Linked DNA regions of Homo sapiens: region 2 is linked to region 1. The links are contacts of gene promoters, found by promoter capture Hi-C in human tissues and cell types (Jung and others, 2019). All regions are on one chromosome and are shown on one strand. The core of a region is centred on a gene start or on the middle of the fragment in contact, and the rest is flanking DNA. Distances in the headings are between cores, read along the strand shown.

Region 1 (4,278 bases), core at 1,182-3,681:
TTTGCGGAGAGAGTTCCATTCAAACACATCTGCTACCAAAAATAAAAATAAAAAATAAAAAAAAATAAAAGCAGCTCAAGTGTTACAGTGGATGTAGTGATTATTTACAGGCAAATCTGGCCATCTCATCTCCACCTCTGGAAGCTCTCTGGCTTTCAGCATATGCCCCAAGTCAGCTCAAACTTCATCTACATTTCAGGGGTAGAAACCCTCTTCCCCAGTTTCTGGATCTGCATTGTCATTCAGCTGCATGTCTCCCACATGCAAACACGCGCGCACTCGCGCGCACACACACAAGTGTTTCCATACGTACAAATGAACGCATTAGAAAATTACCGTCATTTTTTAAAAGGCTCCAGGATTCTGACGAGTCAGCTTGAAGAGCTCAAAACATTTCATTTCAATTCTGCAGATCTGAAGAAAAAGAAAGGGGGGAGGGGTGGAAGTACAGATGCAATACCGTATTAATATTCAGATACACTATAATCTCCTTTTCATTGATCCACAGGTCCCTTTATACACTGCCGCTCCATTCTCAGCCGCAGACGTGATGCTAAAATCATTTTAACTGCAGCGGTTTTCGCTTGGCTTTGGCCAGTCTTCAATTTACTGCAGCTGGAAAAGGATTAGCCATTTTTGCTGGAATCCTTTCCTTCTAAGCGCTCAAAGGCAGGACCCATCTTCATGAAAGAGCCAAGTGCGGGGGCCGGGGGGACCCGGCGTTGCGGGGAGTTGGGGCGCGGAAATCAGGGCAGTAGACGTGCATTCGCGGGACTCTCAGAAGCACGTCTCAGGCTACTATCACGCCCATGGACACTAGCCCTCCTTAACTCCTTGCCAGGAGGAAATGGCAACGTATCTCCAGGTCGGAAAACGACTCTACTTTTCCCGCAGGTTGTGGTGGTGTATTCTTGGGTCATTCATTACCAGAAAGCAGCAAAGGACCTTCCTATCTCTTTGCATAAAAAGGAGATTGAATAGGGGCTTCTTTCGTGAATAAACAACCAATTCCTTGCTAGTGGCCCATTAATTAAAAATATATATTTATAGATCTTTCCTTAGAGAACTGGCATTCTATCCACTCTCCAGCATTAAAGAGTTCGCGCTGTGTTTTAACTTCACAAGAACTAGCTATGTGGATGTGCCGCGTTGCCCCTGCGCCTCCGGAAGGGGCACTCACAGCTGGTCAAGCGCGTCCTTCGGAACTCGGGGAGGCTCCGTTGGGGCTTACACAGAGCTAAGCCCTGGGCCAGGGAGGATGGATGCAAGTACCGTGCATGTGCAAACGTGTTCGCAGATACCCGCAGCGGTGCACACTCGGGCCCCTCGTGTGCACGGGCCCTGCCCACCACCCCGCCCGCGTTCGCCGCCGCCCCACTGTCCTCATCCCGCGGGCTGACCCCAGGATTGGCAGAAATCAGTGGTCTAATCTAGCATGGTGGGTAAAGGGATCGATCTCCAATTGCCAAAAAAAAAATAGAAAATAGCCGGTGTTCCCAGCCGCTGCGTGGCACTTGGCCGCACAAGGCGCAGGGATATCAGAGGCGCTTTGCAGCGCTTGGCGGTGCTGTGTGCCGGATGCCCCAGAGCCCGGCGTTAGGATGGCGGGCTTGTAGGAAGCGGCTCAAATCAACTCCTCAGTCACTGATGAACGCGCTCACGGCTCGAAGCTAGGTCCTCGAGTGAGTTAATCTACTTGGTAAGTATTTTGTGAATATGTATTTTGGGAGGAAAGAAGCACGTCGAACGCGTCTGCCCGTCTGTAAGCGCTGTCATCCCCACATCCTTTAGCGTGAATTCCTCCGCTTTTTAGGAGTCACCTCCACCCCCTACTCCGTATGCTTCGCGCCTTTCCTCACGGCCCCGTCAGACCCCCTCACCTTTAGATTGACACATGCCATATAATACTCACTTTTAAAATGCCCTGCCAGTCTCTGCTAGGGTCCCTTAATTAGGTAACCCTTGCCAATTAGTGGGCCCTGCGCTACTTTTTCCCTTCTCGATGATTTATTTCCATGATGCGTATTAGGGAAAATACCTTAAAGGAAAAAGAATGTTAGCATCATTGGAAATCCCGCTCCTAGGAGAGGATATCGCAGCTGTTGCTATTATGTTTTCGCATTTGCTGATGCAAACAGGGGAACCTCTCTATTCCCTCCCCATTACCTGCGGCTGGGGACTGGGAACTTTCCGCGGCATTGTCCCCAGCCAGCGCCTCGGGACCTGCGGGGCTGTTCTCGCTCTCACACTCACACTCACCCCGGCCGCTCGGGCGAGAGTTCTGTCCCGCCCCGCCCGGCTGCCGCGTGACGTGTCTGTTTGGCGGCCAGTTTGGCCAATCATCGGCAGCTCGGTGGGTGGTGCTCCTGGGCGATTGGTTGGCAGAATGAGGGCGCTGCGCAAAAACGGAGAAGCCGAGCGCTCGGAGCTCAGAAACTGCCAGCCCAGACCACAGGCTCAGAGGCTGAAGCAGGAGGAAGGAAGGACTGGAAGGAAAAAGAGACAGGTTAGAGGGAAAGAGGCTTGGGAAGAAAACAGCAGAAAAGAAACTGCTCATTACACTTACAGAGAGGCAAGTAACGGTGGAGATGAGGACAGAGGGAACCAAGACTCTGAAAGACAAAAAATACAAATAGAGCGAAAGAGGAAAAAAATGTCAAGAAGAACATCCATCCGGAGAAATGAAGAGAATGAAAGTTTTAAGCTGCAGAGCCGTTCTGTGCTTTTCCGGCACAAAATTATATCGCTGATTTTAAGCCCTTTTGCATTTGCCAGCCGTTGACATTAAGAGGCATGTTTAACGGTGCCAACAGCATCTCCTTTTCCTTCTCCTCTTCCTCTTCTTCTTCTTCCTCCTCCTCCTCCTCTTTTTCCTCCTCCTCGTTCTCCTCCCATCAGCAAGAAGACAAACCGAGGACAGTCTTGAAATATCGAAATTTCCTCTTTGGGATTTGCCAGCGCCAAGACTGTCGGAATAAAGGACGCTGACTATTGTATTATTGTTATTTTATTAATTAGTCAGTGGAAAGATTACAGATGAGGAAAGGGGACGCCTGTCACCCTTCCTGTGCTAAGATTTAAAAAAAAATGAGGCTGGATTGCGGGAAGCTCTAAAATGAAGCAAAAGGAGTAAGATTTTTAAAGACAGAAAGCCACAGGAGCCCCCACGTAGCGCACTTTTATTTGTATTTTTTCAGATTTTTTTTTGTTTCGTGGTGGTGGGGGAGGTGATTGGGTGGCTGACTGGCTGCGGGAAGCTACTTCCTTTCCTTTTGGAGATGATTGTGCTATTATTGTTTGCCTTGCTCTGGATGGTGGAAGGAGTCTTTTCCCAGCTTCACTACACGGTACAGGAGGAGCAGGAACATGGCACTTTCGTGGGGAATATCGCTGAAGATCTGGGTCTGGACATTACAAAACTTTCGGCTCGCGGGTTTCAGACGGTGCCCAACTCAAGGACCCCTTACTTAGACCTCAACCTGGAGACAGGGGTGCTGTACGTGAACGAGAAAATAGACCGCGAACAAATCTGCAAACAGAGCCCCTCCTGTGTCCTGCACCTGGAGGTCTTTCTGGAGAACCCCCTGGAGCTGTTCCAGGTGGAGATCGAGGTGCTGGACATTAATGACAACCCCCCCTCTTTCCCGGAGCCAGACCTGACGGTGGAAATCTCTGAGAGCGCCACGCCAGGCACTCGCTTCCCCTTGGAGAGCGCATTCGACCCAGACGTGGGCACCAACTCCTTGCGCGACTACGAGATCACCCCCAACAGCTACTTCTCCCTGGACGTGCAGACCCAGGGGGATGGCAACCGATTCGCTGAGCTGGTGCTGGAGAAGCCACTGGACCGAGAGCAGCAAGCGGTGCACCGCTACGTGCTGACCGCGGTGGACGGAGGAGGTGGGGGAGGAGTAGGAGAAGGAGGGGGAGGTGGCGGGGGAGCAGGCCTGCCCCCCCAGCAGCAGCGCACCGGCACGGCCCTACTCACCATCCGAGTGCTGGACTCCAATGACAATGTGCCCGCTTTCGACCAACCCGTCTACACTGTGTCCCTACCAGAGAACTCTCCCCCAGGCACTCTCGTGATCCAGCTCAACGCCACCGACCCGGACGAGGGCCAGAACGGTGAGGTCGTGTACTCCTTCAGCAGCCACATTTCGCCCCGGGCGCGGGAGCTTTTCGGACTCTCGCCGCGCACTGGCAGACTGGAGGTAAGCGGCGAGTTGGACTATGAAGAGAGCCCAGTGTACCAAGTGTACGTGCAAGCCAAGGACCTGG
Region 2 (4,278 bases), core at 549-3,048, 150 kb after region 1:
AACAAGTTATTTTTATTAATGATTTTATTTATATTTTTCAAAAATTCTATGATGATTCTGACCTTTAAACCAAGATATTTGATGACAAGTACCATACCTGTTTCATCCATATCCTTTAATAGCTGCTTAAAATATCTGGTGAATAAATAAATAAATGTATGGGTAGATAGAATTTATTTTAGAACATATCATAAGGGAGAAAGCTGGGTAACATTATATGTAAAATTTAAGCCAAATTTCCTGCCCAGAGCTGTTATCTCTAGTTTAGAACTCTAGAAATGTATCGTCTCTTTACTGGGATCTTTCTCTGTAACAAGAATTTATAAGGCTGAAATTCTACAGATAAGAGGATACCTTCCACAGGATGAAATTGACTCAATCATCTTTGGCCCTTTGTTGTACATAGCATAGGGTCTATATTAGCCTTGCTTTTAAAATTCAGTAATCTCCTGTAATCTATTACTTCAAAGATGTGTCATTGTTTGCATATTCAGCAGCACTCTTTCCAAGAAATAAAAAATGATTCATTTTGTGTTATATGAACAATATATTTGGAAGAAGAGAAATCAATACATGTAAATTCATTACATCCAGATGCTCCTCCTTCCAAACTAACCATTAAATGAAAGAGATTAATAAAATAAAATTGAAATAGCATATAATCTTTATGTGTATTTCAGCAGTGAAATTTGACGTAATTCACCAACTTTCTCATGGCGTTTTCTTTCTGCATTTTATAGCTTAGTCTGATGTTCATTTGGATAAATTTAGAAAGCTAACACCTCATTTTATGCAGCTGAAGTGTAAGATTAAGTAGAGTAGAAACCTTGCTAATTATCACTTCTCTGATCTACACACCTGATACTTCTTGCAAAGAGTTTTTAGCAAATATTAAAAAGAGGTCATGTATCAAAGCATTATTTTTATATCTCCACATTTAAGTAGAAATTTGAGAATACATATGTGCATTTAATGTTTTAACAAATACCTTTAGTGTATGTATAACATAATGTCACTGATTAAATATAACTTCAAGTAATAAATTGCTAGGAAATATTTTATATCATCTCTCTCTATTCTTTTTAGTCCTCTCCACCACAATACATTTCCTTATGTATTTCTGAAACTTTCCTTAGGGCTTTCTAGATGGCCATTAGCTAGGAAGATGTCCAGCTATAACCCCAAAGCAACTTGGCACAGAGAGTGCTTCCACGCAGCTCTGCTTTTGATTTTATCTTTGAAAATAGAATGTTTAAATAGAAAAAGATGAAGTAATAGATATTCATCTGACAATGGGAAAGTGATATAGATTTTTTTCCAGCTCTATTAAAGTATAATTGGAAAATAAAAGTCATATATATATACATACATATATATATAGAAGATGTACAATGTGGTGTTTTGATATACATATACAATGTTAAATAATTAGAACAATAGGGTAATTAACATACCCATCACCACACATAGTTAACTTTTTGTGTATACATGTGTGGTGACAATATATAAGATTTATTCTCTTAGCAAATTTCAAATACAATCTTCCCTCTGTATTGAACACTGGGATTGGTTCCAGGACCCTTGACAGATACCAAAATGCACAGATGTTCGATACCCTTATATAAAATGGTGTAGTATTTGCATATTACATACACACAGCCGCTTGTATACTTTAAACATCTCTAGAATACTTATAATACCTAATGAAATGTAAATGCTATGTAAATATTATAATTATTACATTGTATTTTTTATTTGTATTAATTTTTGTTGCATTGTTATTTTTATTCTTCTTTCAAATGTTTTGGATCCGCAGTTGGTTGAATCTGTAAATGTGGAACCTATGGATATGGAGGGGCAACTGTATACTTCACATTATTATTAACCCTAGCCATCAGATCTCCAGAATTTATTCAATTTATAACTGCAAGTTTGTATCTTTTGACCAACACTTCCTCATTTCCCTCTTACCCACCCTACCACATCCCACAGCCCCTGGTAAGTTATCCTTCTACTCTTTGCATCTATGAGTTAAACTATTTTAGGTTCCACATATGAGATCATGCAGTATTTGTCTTTCTGTGTCTCGTTTATTTCACTTAGTATAAATTGTCCCGATTCTTCTTTGTTGTTACAAATAACAGCATCTGCTTCTTTTTAAGGTTGAATAGCATTCCTTGATAGATCATATATATATGTGTGTGTGTGTATATATATACCATTATATAATATATACCATTATATATATTATATATGGCATATAATGATATATAATATATACCATTATGTAATATTCCATTATATATGTGACCCGTATTTCATCTCATATATATGCAATATTATATAATGGTATATATTATATGCCATTATATGTGACCTGTATTCCATCATATATATGATATGATTCATATGGATCATATATGATATGGATCATATATGATATTCATATGGAATCATATATATGATGGTATACAGGTCACAAATATAATGGAATATTATTCATCCACATATTCATATATATTTCTTTATTCATTCATCCATCAATGAACACTTAGTTTATTTTCATATCTTGGCTATTGTGTGTAATGTCATTATAACATGAGAGTGCAAATGTCTCTTCAAGATAGTGATTTTATTTTCTTCTAATATATACCCAGAAGTGAGGTTCCTTGCTCACATGGTATTACCGTTCTATTATTTATTTTTTAGAAAGTTCCATACTACTTTTCATAATGGCCGTATTAATATATATTCCCATAAACAATCTATAAAGATCACCTTTTCCCCATATCCTTTCCAACACGTGTTATCTTTTGGATTTTTTTATAATAGCTAGCTGTGGTGGTTAATATTGAGTTTCAACTTGATTGGATTGAAGAATGCAAAGTATTGTTCCTGGGTGTGTCTGTGAGAGTGTTGCCAAACGAGATTAACATTTGAGTCTGTGGACCAGGAGAGGCAGACCCACTTTCAATCTGGGTGGGCACCATCTTATCAGCTGCCAGTGCAGCTAGAATAAAGCAGGCTGAAGAAATCGGAAAGGGCAGACTAGCTGAGTCTTCTGACCTCTGTTTGTCTCCCTTGATGAATGCTTCCTGCCCTCGAACATCAGACTCCAAGTTCTTCATCTCTTGGACTCTTGGACTTACACCAGTGATCTGACAGGGGCTCTGGGGCTTTCAGCCACAGACTGAAGGCTGCACTATTTGTTTCCACACTTTTGAGCTTTTGGGACTTGGACTGGCTTCCTCACTCCTCAGCTTGCAGATGACATATCTTGGGACTTCACCTTGTGTTCTTGTGAGTCAATTCTCCCAATAAACTCCTCTTCATGTATACATATATCCTATTAGTCCTATCCCTTTAGAGAACGCTGACAAATATAGTATTCTAACACAAATAAGGGATATCTCTTTTTGATTTGATTTGCATTTACCTGATGATTAGTGATGTTTAGCATTTTATTATTATTATTTTTTGAGACGGAGTCTCACTCCATTGCATAGGCTGGAGTATAGCAGTGCGATCTTGGCTCACTGCAACCCCCACCTTCTGGGTTCAAGCAATTTTTATGCCTCAGCCTCCCAAGTAGCTGGGATTACAGGTGCATGCCACCATGCCTGGCTAATTTTTGCATTTTTAGTAGAGACGGGGTTTCTCCATGTTGGCCAGGCTGGTCTCGAACTCTTGACCTCAGGTGATCCACCTGCCTCAGCTTCACAAAGTGCTGGGATTACAGGCGTGAGCCACTGTGCCCGGCCCTAGTACCTTTTTTATATACCTGTTGGACATTTGTAAGGATTTTAAAAATATATCTATTAAAGTCCTTTGCCCATTTTTAAATCAGTTTTTCTCACTGAGTTGAATGAGTTACTTATATATTTTGGATAATAACCCCTTAACAGATATGTGTGGTTTACAGATATTTTCTCTCATATTGCAAGTTGATATTGTAATATGTTGTAAGAAAATGAAAATGTAACTTACAATATTGTAAGAATTTATAGTTGGGTTTTTTTGCTGAAGTCTTGAATCCACTTCGTGTTGATTTTTATGTATGGTGTAAAATAAATATCCAATTTTATTCTTTTACTTGTTAATATCCAATTTTCCCAAAACCATATAATAAAGTGACTATTTTTTTCAGTGTGTATTCTTTAAGACTTGAATATTAGCTGGCCACATATGGGTGAGTTTATTTCTGTGCTTTCTATTTTGTTCCATTTGTCTTTATGTCTGTTTTTACGCCAGTCCCATACAGTTTTGATGACTGTAGCT

What was found. Contacts are between HindIII fragments. The study calls those that stand out against the background at their distance.
Region 2: a contact is called between a fragment that was not itself captured here and the fragment with the promoter of PCDH10 in region 1, in 1 of the 25 tissues and cell types used here (mesendoderm cells).

The regions. Positions count from the first base shown.
Region 1 is chr4:133,146,863-133,151,140 of GRCh38, forward strand. It overlaps PCDH10 (protocadherin 10), which reads left to right and starts at 2,432. Exons shown (of 5, transcript NM_032961.3): 1 at 2,432-4,278. The coding sequence starts at 3,279. It overlaps PCDH10-DT (PCDH10 divergent transcript), which reads right to left and starts at 2,254. Exons shown (of 9, transcript NR_125885.1): 1 at 2,167-2,254; 2 at 337-414. RefSeq lists an enhancer at 2,176-2,235 and a silencer at 2,346-2,485. The HindIII fragment of the contact is 10,822 bases long and covers 1-4,278 here.
Region 2 is chr4:133,301,650-133,305,927 of GRCh38, forward strand. No RefSeq gene overlaps it. Among named protein-coding and RNA genes, the nearest start is that of PCDH10, 150 kb to the left of the region's middle. The HindIII fragment of the contact is 8,155 bases long and covers 1-4,278 here.